Linked DNA regions of Homo sapiens: regions 1, 2 and 3 are each linked to region 4. Evidence: promoter capture Hi-C in human tissues and cell types (Jung and others, 2019). All regions are on one chromosome and are shown on one strand. Each heading gives the region's core, a stretch centred on a gene start or on the middle of the fragment in contact. The rest is flanking DNA. Distances are from core to core; before and after follow the strand shown. Region 1 overlaps CLIP1 (CAP-Gly domain containing linker protein 1). Region 2 overlaps CLIP1 (CAP-Gly domain containing linker protein 1). Region 3 overlaps MPHOSPH9 (M-phase phosphoprotein 9). Region 4 holds the start of DENR (density regulated re-initiation and release factor).

Region 1 (2,700 bases), core at 20-2,519, 390 kb after region 4:
TGCCTGTAGTCCCAGCTACTCGGGAGGCTGAGGCAGGAGAATCGCTTGAACCTGGGAGGCGGAGGTTGTGGTGAGCTGAGATTGCGCCGCTGCACTCCAGCCTGGGCAACAGACTGAGACTTTGTCTCAAAAAAAAAAAAATTATACATTTTACTTATTTCAATAGGTTTTTGGGGAACAGATGGTGTTTGGTTATATGAATAACTTCTTTTGTAGTGATATCTGAGATTTTGGTGCGCCCATCACTTGAGTTTTTTATTTGTTTGTTTTGAGACAGAGTCCACCCCGTCACCCAGGCTGGACTACAGTGGTGCAATCTCGGGTTACTTCAGCCTTGACCTCTTGGGCTCAAGAGAGCCTCCTGCACCACCATGCCTGGCTAGTTTTTGTATTTTTTGTAGAGACGGGGTCTGTCCATATTGCCCTGGCTGGTCTTGAACTCCTGGGCTCAAGTGATCTGCCGCCTCGGCCTCCCACAGTGCTGGGATTACAGGCGTGAGCCACCACGTCCAACTCTTCATGTTTACTTTAATGGATCTGCCAAAGTTAGGTGCCTGTTTGATTTCCTTTCCCTTTGTTTGGCACGGTTTTATTAAATGGGCTTGTTCTATTGCTAAACTCCTCTGCTGTACATTTATCAGGTTGTGAAAATATTTATTTCCTTTATGCAGAATCTCAGCAACAGGTGAGCAATTCTGACTCTGTGTATCATATTGTCACCAGTGTGTGTTCTAAACCATCACTGAGGTTGTTAGCCTACATACATGTGACTGCTACGTGCTGGTGTGTAACCCCAGCTTAGCTGTAGAATTTCCAGGAATCCAACCGTAAGTTAGGAGTTGGGAGAACCTTTTGGTTATAGTTATTATTTCTTGTGATTAAGTTGTTTTTTGTTATTGTTCTTATTGTTCTCTAAAGGTATTTTCAGTGTCAACCCAAATATGGCTTGTTCGCTCCTGTCCACAAAGTTACCAAGATTGGCTTCCCTTCCACTACACCAGCCAAAGCCAAGGCCAACGCAGTGAGGCGAGTGATGGCGACCACGTCCGCCAGCCTGAAGCGCAGCCCTTCTGCCTCTTCCCTCAGCTCCATGAGCTCAGTGGCCTCCTCTGTGAGCAGCAGGCCCAGTCGGACAGGACTAGTAAGGCCCCTTTCTCACTACCTGCCTCCACTTCCCAGGCAGGATTAAGGCCCGTGGTCAGTGCCCCTGCTTTGCTGCTTTGCTGCTTTGCTTGTCCTTGTGCTGAATGTTGCTCACAGCTTTTGCTGTGAAAGTCTTTGCAAGTAAGTTTTGAAAAATGTAACTCCAGCAAGAATGCGTTTTTTGAAATCAGAAAGTGCTTTTAATAGTCCCTTTCAGATTCTTAAAAGCTTAAAAATGCATGTGTTCTTGGTGAATCTGTATAACTACTGCCTAGTCTAACACAGGGGTCAAATTATTTTCTATGAAATTATTTTAGGACAAAATGATAGGAACATTGGAGAGATCCTTTTCTTCAAGTCCATAGATCTGTCTCTCCCTCTCTCTCTTTTTTTTATTTTTTCTTTTGAGTCAGGGTCTCACTTTGTCACCCAGCCTCAACGTCCCAGGCTCAAGCAGTCCTGCTGCCTCAGCCTCCCCAGTAGTTGGGACTACTGGTGCACACCACCACGCCTGGTTAATTTAATTTTTTTTTTTTTTTTTTTTTTGTAGAGAGAGGGACCCACTGTGTTGCCCAGGCTGGTCTCGAATTCTTAGGCTCAAGCGATCCTCTTGCCCTGGACTTCCAAAGTGTTGGGATTTACAGGCGTGAGCCACTGCTCCCAGCCTCTCTTTCTCTTTGACTTCAAATAATTTTAGGAAGTGAAGTGTTTTGAGAAAAGGTGTGTTAATAGGATTTTAATGTTAATACAACCTGACCTACTGGAAGCAGTTAGTGTGTGAAGTGTCCCTGACTTGAGCCAGAGGACACTAAAGGGAACTCTTGGAGCTGGAAGAGGATACTAGGAAAGCCTGTTTTGATTACTCTCTTCTTTCCTCTTCTTCTCCTGGTCCCTTTCCCTCTCTCCCTCTTTTTCCTGTTTAGAGCAGTAAAAATAGAATCACTAGCATTAAAATAGGCAACACCTCATTCTGTTTATTAAGGTGTTATTTTATTAGGGTCAAAGCCCTGCCCATAAGTTTATTACCTAGAAGTGGGGCAAATACTGTTTAAGTTAGAAATGGCGGCATCAGACTTTCCTCAGACTGAGTTCAGGTCTCCGCTGGGTGGTGGGGAACCGCAGACCAGGAGCTAGGATGTTGCGTTGTGCTGCGGGGAGGAGGTGGTTAGCCCAGGATCTCACGGTGCCTGCTCTTCCATTGTCGTCGGGCAGAGAAGGGACAGGTGCTGAAATCTTCACGTGGGGCTGTGCTCCTCTGCCAGCCATCTAGGCTTCCTTCCTCTATGTTCAGGTAGAATAAGTACTGCTCAGAGCATTTCCATTTGCGCATAAAGAGGAAGCCTGCATCTTCAACAGAAAAATTACTTTTATGAGAAAAGCATGACAAGAACAATGAAATGGAGAAGAGCCCCAAACCCCTGTGTTCAGACAGAGCTTTGTTTAATGTGGGTCAGAAACTCTGATAGGGACAGCTTGCCTCCTTTGCTGTTCTAGGAACAATTCCATGGGAGGGTCTATTCTGGATTAGGAATTCTTTCTTGAGTAATTTTTATTACC
Region 2 (2,700 bases), core at 6-2,505, 430 kb after region 4:
CCCTTGCCTCAGCTTCCCAAGTAGCTGAGACTAAAAGCACGTGCCACTACACCTGGCTAATTTTTTATTTTTTGTAGAGACAGAGTCTCGCTATGTTGCTCAGGCTGGTCTCGAACCCCTGGATGCAAGCGATCCACCTGCTTCAGCTTCCCAAGGTGCTGGGATTGCAGGCGTGATTCATCGTTCCTGGCCAGTCTCACAAGGCGCTGGGGTTGCAGGCGTGAGCCACCATTCCTGGCCAGTCTCACAAGGCGCTGGGGTTGCAGGCGTGAGCCACCATTCCTGGCCAGTCTCACAAGGTGCTGGGATTGCAGGCATGAGCCACCATTCCTGGCCAGTCTCACTGATTTTGTTGGTTGGTTTTGTGCAAGAGTCATTGAGTTAAAAATGCCAGGACTGTTCCCCTCCAAACGTGTCTAGTATCTAATTTCAGTGGATCGTAATCAGTCCCAGACTCTTTGGAATAATCTAATGAAATCTACAGATATTTTTTCAGGAAAGTTTACGTGTGCACTCAACAAGGTTCCTGGAACCCATGAAGCCTCCTATTCCCTACTTTTAAGAGCCAGTGGGCTATAGCTGTGCTGCCTAATGTAGTAGCCACCAGCCATGTGAGGCCATTCAAATGTAAATTTGTAGCCAGTTCTGGTGGCTCACGCCTGTAATCCTAGCACTTTGGGAGGCCAAGGTGGGCAGATTGCCTGAGCACAGGAGTTTGAGACCACCCTGGACAACATCGTGAGACCGTCTCTACTACAAATACAAAAAATTAATTGGGTGTGGTGGCACACACCTGTAGTCCCAGCTACTCAGGAGGCTGAGGCAGGAGAATCCTTTGAGCCTGGGAGGCGGAGGCTGCAGTGAGCTGAGATGGTGCCACTGCACTCTGGCCTGGGTGACAGAGTGAGACTGTCTCAAAAAATAAATAAAAATAAAAACCTTAATATGGGAATATATGCGGTCTACATTATTTTCTCTATTTTTGTATATGCTTAAAAGAGGATCGCTTGAAACTGGGAGGCAGAGGTTGCAGTGAGCCGAGATCGCGCCACTTCCCTCCAGCCTGGGCCACAGAGTGAGACTCTGCCTCCAAAATAAATAAATAAATAAATAAATTTAAATTTGTTACATTTTAATTAAAAATTTAGCTCCTCAGTTGCACTCACCACATTTCAGGTGCTCAGTAGTCATATGGTCACCATGATGGGAGTGCAAATAAGAACATTTATATCAGCTGGGCGTGGTGGCTCATGCCTGTAATCCCAGCACTTCGGGAGGCCTAGGTGGGTGGATCACTTGGGGTCAGGAGTTTGAGACCAGCCTGGCCAACATGGTGAAACCCCGTCTCTACTAAAAATACAAAAATTAGCCGGGCACGGTGGCGGAGCCTTGTAATCCCAGCTACTTGGGAGGCTGAGGCATGAGAATAGCTTGAACCCAGAGGCGGAGGTTGCAGTGAGCCAAGATCGCACCATTGCACTCCAGCCTGGGCAATAGATAGAGCGAGACTCAGTCTCAAAAAAAAAAAAAAAAAATTATATCATTGCAGAAAGTTCTGGATAGCACTGGTATAGACACTGTGGTCAAATTATCTTATAATTCAGTAAATAAAAAAAAAAAACTATTCCTTTTAGTCAGCAAAGCCTAGAAATTAGGCTGTAGTTTTTAAGTTATATGTGATATTGGGACTAAATCACTCTCAGCCCCTCAGCTACCCTTAAGTAAGGTCCTGTGGTGAGTTTGGAAGGCAGTAGTTTATTTTCCCTTGTTATGCCCCTTCCTTTTTTCATTAAAATATACTGAGTTTTTGTACTTCTTTTAATTGTATTTTTAAAAATTGTTCTATGAATCCTTTCTGCTTTCAAAGTAATTTGATAATTGGAATGGCAGGAAAGAATCTTATGCCCTGATATTAAAATCAAGCTACTATTTTTATCTTCTAGGTAGCTACTGGGAATAATTTCACAAGTTGTTTCAAAGATAAAATAAGCTAACAGATACAGAAGCACTTTGCAAAACTACACTTTTGACTTACCTTTTTATGGGCTCTGTTTAGTTTCTTTCCCTTGTTATTCAGATAGTTTCTATAAAGTTTATTGTAGAAATTGTAAAGTTTTTATCATTTAGGTTACATTAAGTTATTTGGGCTTGCATTTGTCTGCTTGATTTCATTTTTGTTTCCATTCTTTCCATCTTTTGTTTCTGTAGTCGCTAACTTATTTGTTAACATCAGCCAAAAAAGAAATTGAACTAATGTCAGAAGAGCTGAGGGGTCTGAAATCAGAGAAGCAGCTTCTTTCTCAGGAGGGAAATGATTTAAAGTTAGAAAACGGTTCACTTTTATCCAAGCTTGTAGAATTGGAGGCCAAAATAGCTTTACTTCAGGGAGACCAGCAGAAACTGTGGTCAGTGAATGAAACTCTTAATTTAGAAAAGGAGAAATTCTTAGAAGAAAAGCAAGATGCCGAAAAGTATTATGAGCAGGAACATCTCAATAAAGAAGCTTTGGCTGTTGAGAGAGAGAAATTGCTTAAAGAAATCAATGTTGTACAGGAAGAACTCTTGAAGATAAATGTGGAAAATGACTCTTTGCAAGCTTCCAAGGTGAGCATGCAGGCACTCATTGAAGAGCTCCAGCTCAGCAAAGATACTTTGATTGCTAAGACTGAGAAGGACCAGGAAGAAAAAGATCACCTGGAG
Region 3 (2,700 bases), core at 200-2,699, 420 kb before region 4:
AAATTAGCCAGATGTGGTGGCACGCAGCTGTCATCCCAGCTACTCACAGGGCTGAGGCAGGAGAATGGTTTGAACCTGAGAGGCGGAGGTTGCAGTGAGCCGACATCGAGCCACTGTACTCCAGCCTGGGTGACAGAGCGAGACTCTGTCTTAAAAAAAAAAAAGCTGGGTGTGGTGGTTGGTGGTACGCGCCTGTAGTCCCAGCTGCTCGGGAGGCTGAGGTGGGAGAATCACTTGAGCCTGAGGGGTCGAGGCTGTACTGAGCCATGATCATGCCACTGCACTTTAGCCTGGGGGACAGGGTAAAACCCTGTCTCAAAAAAAAAAAAAGACATTTAAAAATGTGTATTAATACATTATGCCTTCTGTGTAATTAAATATATAAAAATTGGTCTTATAATTAAAAACAAATTTTGCAAGATCGGGCTGGGCACGTGGCTCACACCTGTAATCCCAGCACTTTGGGAGGCCAAGGTGGGCAGATCACTTAAGGTTAGGAGTTTGGCCAACATGGTGAAACCCCGTCACTTCTAAAAATACAAAAATTAGCTGGGCACAGTGGTGGGCCCCTGTAATCCCAGCAACTGTGGAGGCTGAGGCAGGAGAATTGCTTGAACCTGGTAGGCAGAGGTTGCAGTGAGCTGAGATCACGCCACTGCACTCCAGCCTGGGTGACAGAGGAAAACTCCATCTCAAGAAAAAAAAAAATTGGCAAGATCTTAGCATTTATTAAAACTGAGAATGGGTGAGTAGATGCTTGTTATAGTATTCTTTGTAATTTTCCAAGAATGTTTGAAGATTTTTTTTTTTTTTTAAGACGGAGTCTCGCTCTGTTGCCCAGGCTGAAGTGCAGTGGTGCAATCTCGGCTCACTGCAAACTCCGCCTCCTGGGCTTATGCCATTCTCCTGCCTAAGCCTCCTGAGTAGCTGGGACTACAGGTGCCCGTCACCACACCTGGCTAATTTTTATTTTGCATTTTTAGTAGAGACGGGGTTTCACCATGTTAGCCAGGGTGGTCTCGAGCTCCTGACCTCGTTATCTGCCCGCCTTGGCCTCTCAAAGTGCTAGGATTATAGGCATGAGCCACTGAGCCTGGCCCTGAAATAGTTCTTAATTTAAAAACTGGGCCGGGCGCAGTGGCTCACGCCTGTAATCCCAGCACTTTGGGAGGCCAAGGTGGGTGGATCACGAGGTCAGCAGATCAAGACCATCCTGGCTAATAACATGGTGAAACCCCATCCCTACTAAAAACACAAAAAATTAGCCGGGCGTGGTGGTGGGCGCCTGTAGTCCCAGCTACTCGGGAGTCTGAAGCAGTAGAATGGTGTGAACCCAAGAGGCAGAGCTTGCCGTGAGCCGAGATCGCGCCACTGCACTCCAGCCTGGGCGACAGAGTGAGACTCTGTCTCAAAAAAAAAAAAACTGAGGGAAAGAGTGACTGGAGTTGAAGTGAATGTAGATAGAAGAGGCAGCCTCTAAAATGTTTGGTTGTGAAAGGGGACAGAGAGAAAACAAGAGTTGTTTCATGGTTTCTGGTGTTTCTTTGAATTTGACTCAAAAGTTTCACCTGTCAACGAAGGTGGGATGGGAGGTTTGAGGAGGGTGGAAAGGGTGTGAGATAGTCATGTTTGGAGAACTGAAGCTTGCTGGTTACAGAAAGTCATGTTGCCGGCCGGGTGCGTTGGCGCACACCTGTAATCCCAGCACTTTGGGAGGCTGAGGTGGGCGGATCATGAGGTCAGGAGATCGAGACCATCCTGGCTAACACGGTGAAACCCCGTCTCTACTAAAAATACAAAAAAATTAGCCGGGCGTGGTGGCAGGCGCCTGTAGTCCCAGCTACTTGGGAGGCTGAGGCAGGAGAATCGCTTGAACCTGGGAGGCGGAGCTTGCAGTGAGCCGAGATCACGCCACCGTACTCCAGCCTGGGTGACAGAGCGAGACTCCGTCTCAAAAAAAAAAAAAAAAAAGAAAGTCATGTTGCCAGGCGGTCAGGCGGTTTGGGGTGTCCGCTTGAGGTGGTGATGAGTCTGCCCAGCTGGTGGCTTTTTTCCAGCAAAGCTCAGTGGTAGGAGTTGAGACCTGAAGCGCGGCCTTTGTAGTCAGCCAGTCCTCAGATTTTGCTGCCAGTCAGGTGTGGTGAAAGGTGAGAGAGAAAGTATCGTGAGTGTGGACTTCAGGGTAGATCAAGAGGACCTAGTCAGACTAGGAGGGGTTGATAAATGGAAAATGGAGAGGCCAAGGATCGTAGGTCACGTTGCTGAAGCTTGAGGGCGGGAGGCAGAATAGGGGCACAGTCTTTGGAGTATTGGTTTCTTAAGGGGAGTGTGTTCTCTGGTTTTGACAAAAGCCAGCAAGTACCCTCTGAGGTGGCTGGCTGAGGAGTAGAGGGTCACCTCACTGGAGAGAGTGGTCAGGAAGTTGCCTAGTGTGAGAACAGGCATAGGTGTGGAGAAAACAAGGCAGGCTCTAAAGTCTGGGGAATGACTGGGGGTTAACATGATGGTGGGAACCTCAGATGAGCTGGGGGAGCAATGTCTAGAATTGCGCTGTTCAGTACAGTCCTGCCAACAGCCACTATTACTATTTAAATCAATCATGTCAACCTAAAATCAGTGACAGAGACTGACTCTCCAAAGAAATTTATTTGGAAATGTTGGGGGTTTGCAAGCTGGAGTACGCATGCTGTGGTGAACCAT
Region 4 (2,700 bases), core at 106-2,605:
GCGCTTTGTCTGGGACGCCGTTCCCCACCTTCTCATCCAGTCCTTGCCATCCTTAACTCATAATCTTCCAAGAAGCCCTCCTTTGACAGCTAGACTAGCATACACCTTGAGGACCTTCAGGCTGAAATAACCTAGTTGCACATCCTGTTACAAATGGACTGTAAGCTTCTTCAGGCAGAGTAGCCAGACACAAATCACCCAGGTGGGGAAACTCTGTTAATTCATGCCTCCTCCTCCCCAGGACTCCTCTCCCCCAGTACAAACTCACCAAATGAAAAGGATGGGGAAGAAAGCTTACCAAATGTCAAACTGTTATTACAATGCATAAAAGTATAGTGAGTAAAAGTCATTCTGTGGCTACCAACACTTGCCTCCACAATAAAGGACTCGAAGTGGGTAATCGGCATCTAACTTGGCACTGTTCCTTGGGTCTCCTTTGCAGTCAGCCCCGCTGGATTCAGAAATGTCAGCAGCCATTTCACAAACCTGTAAGCAAGGAAAATAACACACCCTCACTATTTTAGAATCAAGACCCCAGAAGAGCAGTGTTCCTCTCAACAGAAACCTCCCCACCCCAAAGCTGTTTCAAGTCTGTTGTTGAGTGGGGGATACAAGCTGCATTCGATTCATAAAATATGAGCAATCCCAGGCACAACATCTCCTTGCTCCACAGGTCTACAGGGAAGCAAGCAGCAAATGGACCATGAAGGATGGGGCAGAGGGACTCACTAGAGAAAAACAGGAAGCAATGGGGAAGGAAAGATGGGGTGAGTACCCACGGCAGACACGGAGCAAAAAGGTCTGAGGGTGATCTGGGAGGGATGCAAACTGCAGTGAGAGAAGGGCTACAAAGGCGCCGAATGGAGAGAGGCTGGAAGTGCCTAGGAACAAGGGGTGGGTCATCGGAGAAGCCCGGGGTGCAGGGTGTGGGGGCAACTAAACGCCATGAGAGGGGCCTGGGGAGTCTAAAAAGGGCATGGGAGGGGGCGGGGTAACCAGAGCGTAAGAAGGATGAGGAGAGAAAACGAGCGCAGAATGTAAGAGCACTGAGGGGACAAGGGCGACCAGGTCTGAGGCGAAGGAGCAACCCCGGGGACGCCAGAAGGGGCCCTTGTGGGCGGGGGTGTGGAGAGGCCCGGCCCGGCCCCCTTCCGCCAGGCAGCATCTCAGCTTCCCCCACACTCTCTACGAGCTTCTCGGGAGCGGGAGAAGCACTTGGGGTCGTTACCCAGGCGGTCGCACAGGCCCCGCCGGCTCCGCTCCCGCCGCTATCGCCAGCTGAACCAACACATGCAACTCGTCTCCCCGGCCAGGGCCGCCCGAGCGCCCGACCGCCAGCAGCGCTCCCGCGAGACAATGAGCCTTTATCGCGAGATTCCGGCCGCCGCTGGGCGGATGTCGCGAGAAGCCGGAAGACGGGGGCGGAGAAAAATTGCGGAGCGTGCGCCTTGCCCTCCGGTGGGGGGCGTGGCCAAGAGGCCGAGAGGCGGGCCGCCGGCAGGCGGTGCTCGTCACCCGTTGGAGAGGATGAATCCTCGAGATGGGCGTGCCGAAGGGAACGTGACTTGCAGACGCAGAGAGCGCACCTGAGTCACAAATGACTCCCTATTAATGAGTCCGAGGATCATCGCCTCGGTGTCTGCGGTGCATCCTGGAGTCCTGACTAACCTCCAGCTACTGCATAAATCACTCCCGTGCGGGGAGATTGCAGCCGGATAGAGCGTTTGGTCGCATTTTAACACCATGCACTGAATTAAAGGAAGGTGTTCTCCCTCCCTCCCTCCCTCCCTTCCTTCTTTCCTTCCTCTCTTCTTTTCTCTCTCTCTTCGCCGGATGGAGCGTTTGGTTGCGTTTTAACACCATACACTAAATTAAAGGAATTCTTTTTTCTTTCTTTTCTGTTCTTTCTTTTCTTTCTTCTTTCTCTTCTTTCTGTCTCTTTCTTCCCCTTCCCTCCCTCCCTCCCTTCCTTCCTTCTTTCCTTCCTTCCTCCCTCCCTTCCTTCCTTCCTCCCTCCCTTCCTTCATCCTTTTCTTTATGTTTTGACAGGGTCTCACTCTGTCACCTAGGCTGGATGGAGTGCAGTTGCACAAACACGGTTCACTGCAGCCTCGACCTCCCAAGTAGTTGGGAATACAGGCGCGCGTTACCACACCCAGCTAATTTTTAATTTGTTTATAGAGGTGGGGGAATCTCCCTATGCTGTCCAGGCTGGTCTCGAACTCCCGGACTCAAGGGATCCTCCCGCCTCCGCCTCCCAAAGTGCTGGGATTACAGGCGTGAGCCACCGCGCCCGGCCTACAATTTTTTTTAATGAAAAAAAGAAAAATGTAAGAGTATGGGAATATATGGGGAAAAGAAAGATCAGATTGTTACTGTGTCTGTGTAGAAAGAAGTAGACATAAGAGACTCCATTTTGTTCTGTGCTAAGAAAAATTCTTCTGCCTTGAGATGCTGTTAATCTGTAACCCTACCACCAACCCTGTGCTTCCTGAGACCTGTGCTGTGTCAACTGAGGGTTAAATGGATTAAGGGCTGTGCAGGATGTGCTTTGTTAAACAAATGCTTGAAGGCAGCATGCGCCTTAAGAATCATCACCACTCCCTAATCTCAAGTACCCAGAGACACAATACACTGCAGAAGGCCGCAGGGACCTCTTCCTAGGAAAGCCAGGTATTGTCCAAGGTTTCTCCTCATGTG

The links. Contacts are between HindIII fragments. The study calls those that stand out against the background at their distance.
Region 1: a contact is called between a fragment that was not itself captured here and the fragment with the promoter of DENR in region 4, in 1 of the 25 tissues and cell types used here (liver).
Region 2: a contact is called between a fragment that was not itself captured here and the fragment with the promoter of DENR in region 4, in 2 of the 25 tissues and cell types used here (lymphoblastoid cells and mesenchymal stem cells).
Region 3: a contact is called between a fragment that was not itself captured here and the fragment with the promoter of DENR in region 4, in 1 of the 25 tissues and cell types used here (psoas muscle).

Annotation. Positions count from the first base shown.
Region 1 is chr12:122,359,400-122,362,099 of GRCh38, reverse strand. It overlaps CLIP1 (CAP-Gly domain containing linker protein 1), which reads left to right. Exons shown (of 26, transcript NM_001247997.2): 5 at 919-1,141. Among named protein-coding and RNA genes, the nearest start is that of CLIP1-AS1, 35 kb to the left of the region's middle. The HindIII fragment of the contact is 6,251 bases long and covers 1-2,700 here.
Region 2 is chr12:122,323,890-122,326,589 of GRCh38, reverse strand. The region is part of intron 17 of CLIP1 (CAP-Gly domain containing linker protein 1); the gene reads left to right. Among named protein-coding and RNA genes, the nearest start is that of VPS33A, 59 kb to the right of the region's middle. The HindIII fragment of the contact is 8,257 bases long and covers 1-2,700 here.
Region 3 is chr12:123,167,613-123,170,312 of GRCh38, reverse strand. The region is part of intron 16 of MPHOSPH9 (M-phase phosphoprotein 9); the gene reads left to right. Among named protein-coding and RNA genes, the nearest start is that of PITPNM2, 18 kb to the right of the region's middle. The HindIII fragment of the contact is 3,215 bases long and covers 1-2,700 here.
Region 4 is chr12:122,751,479-122,754,178 of GRCh38, reverse strand. It overlaps DENR (density regulated re-initiation and release factor), which reads right to left and starts at 1,355. Exons shown (of 8, transcript NM_003677.5): 1 at 1,229-1,355; 2 at 372-486. The coding sequence starts at 477. RefSeq lists enhancers at 847-906, 1,998-2,700 and a silencer at 1,047-1,096. The HindIII fragment of the contact is 19,306 bases long and covers 1-2,700 here.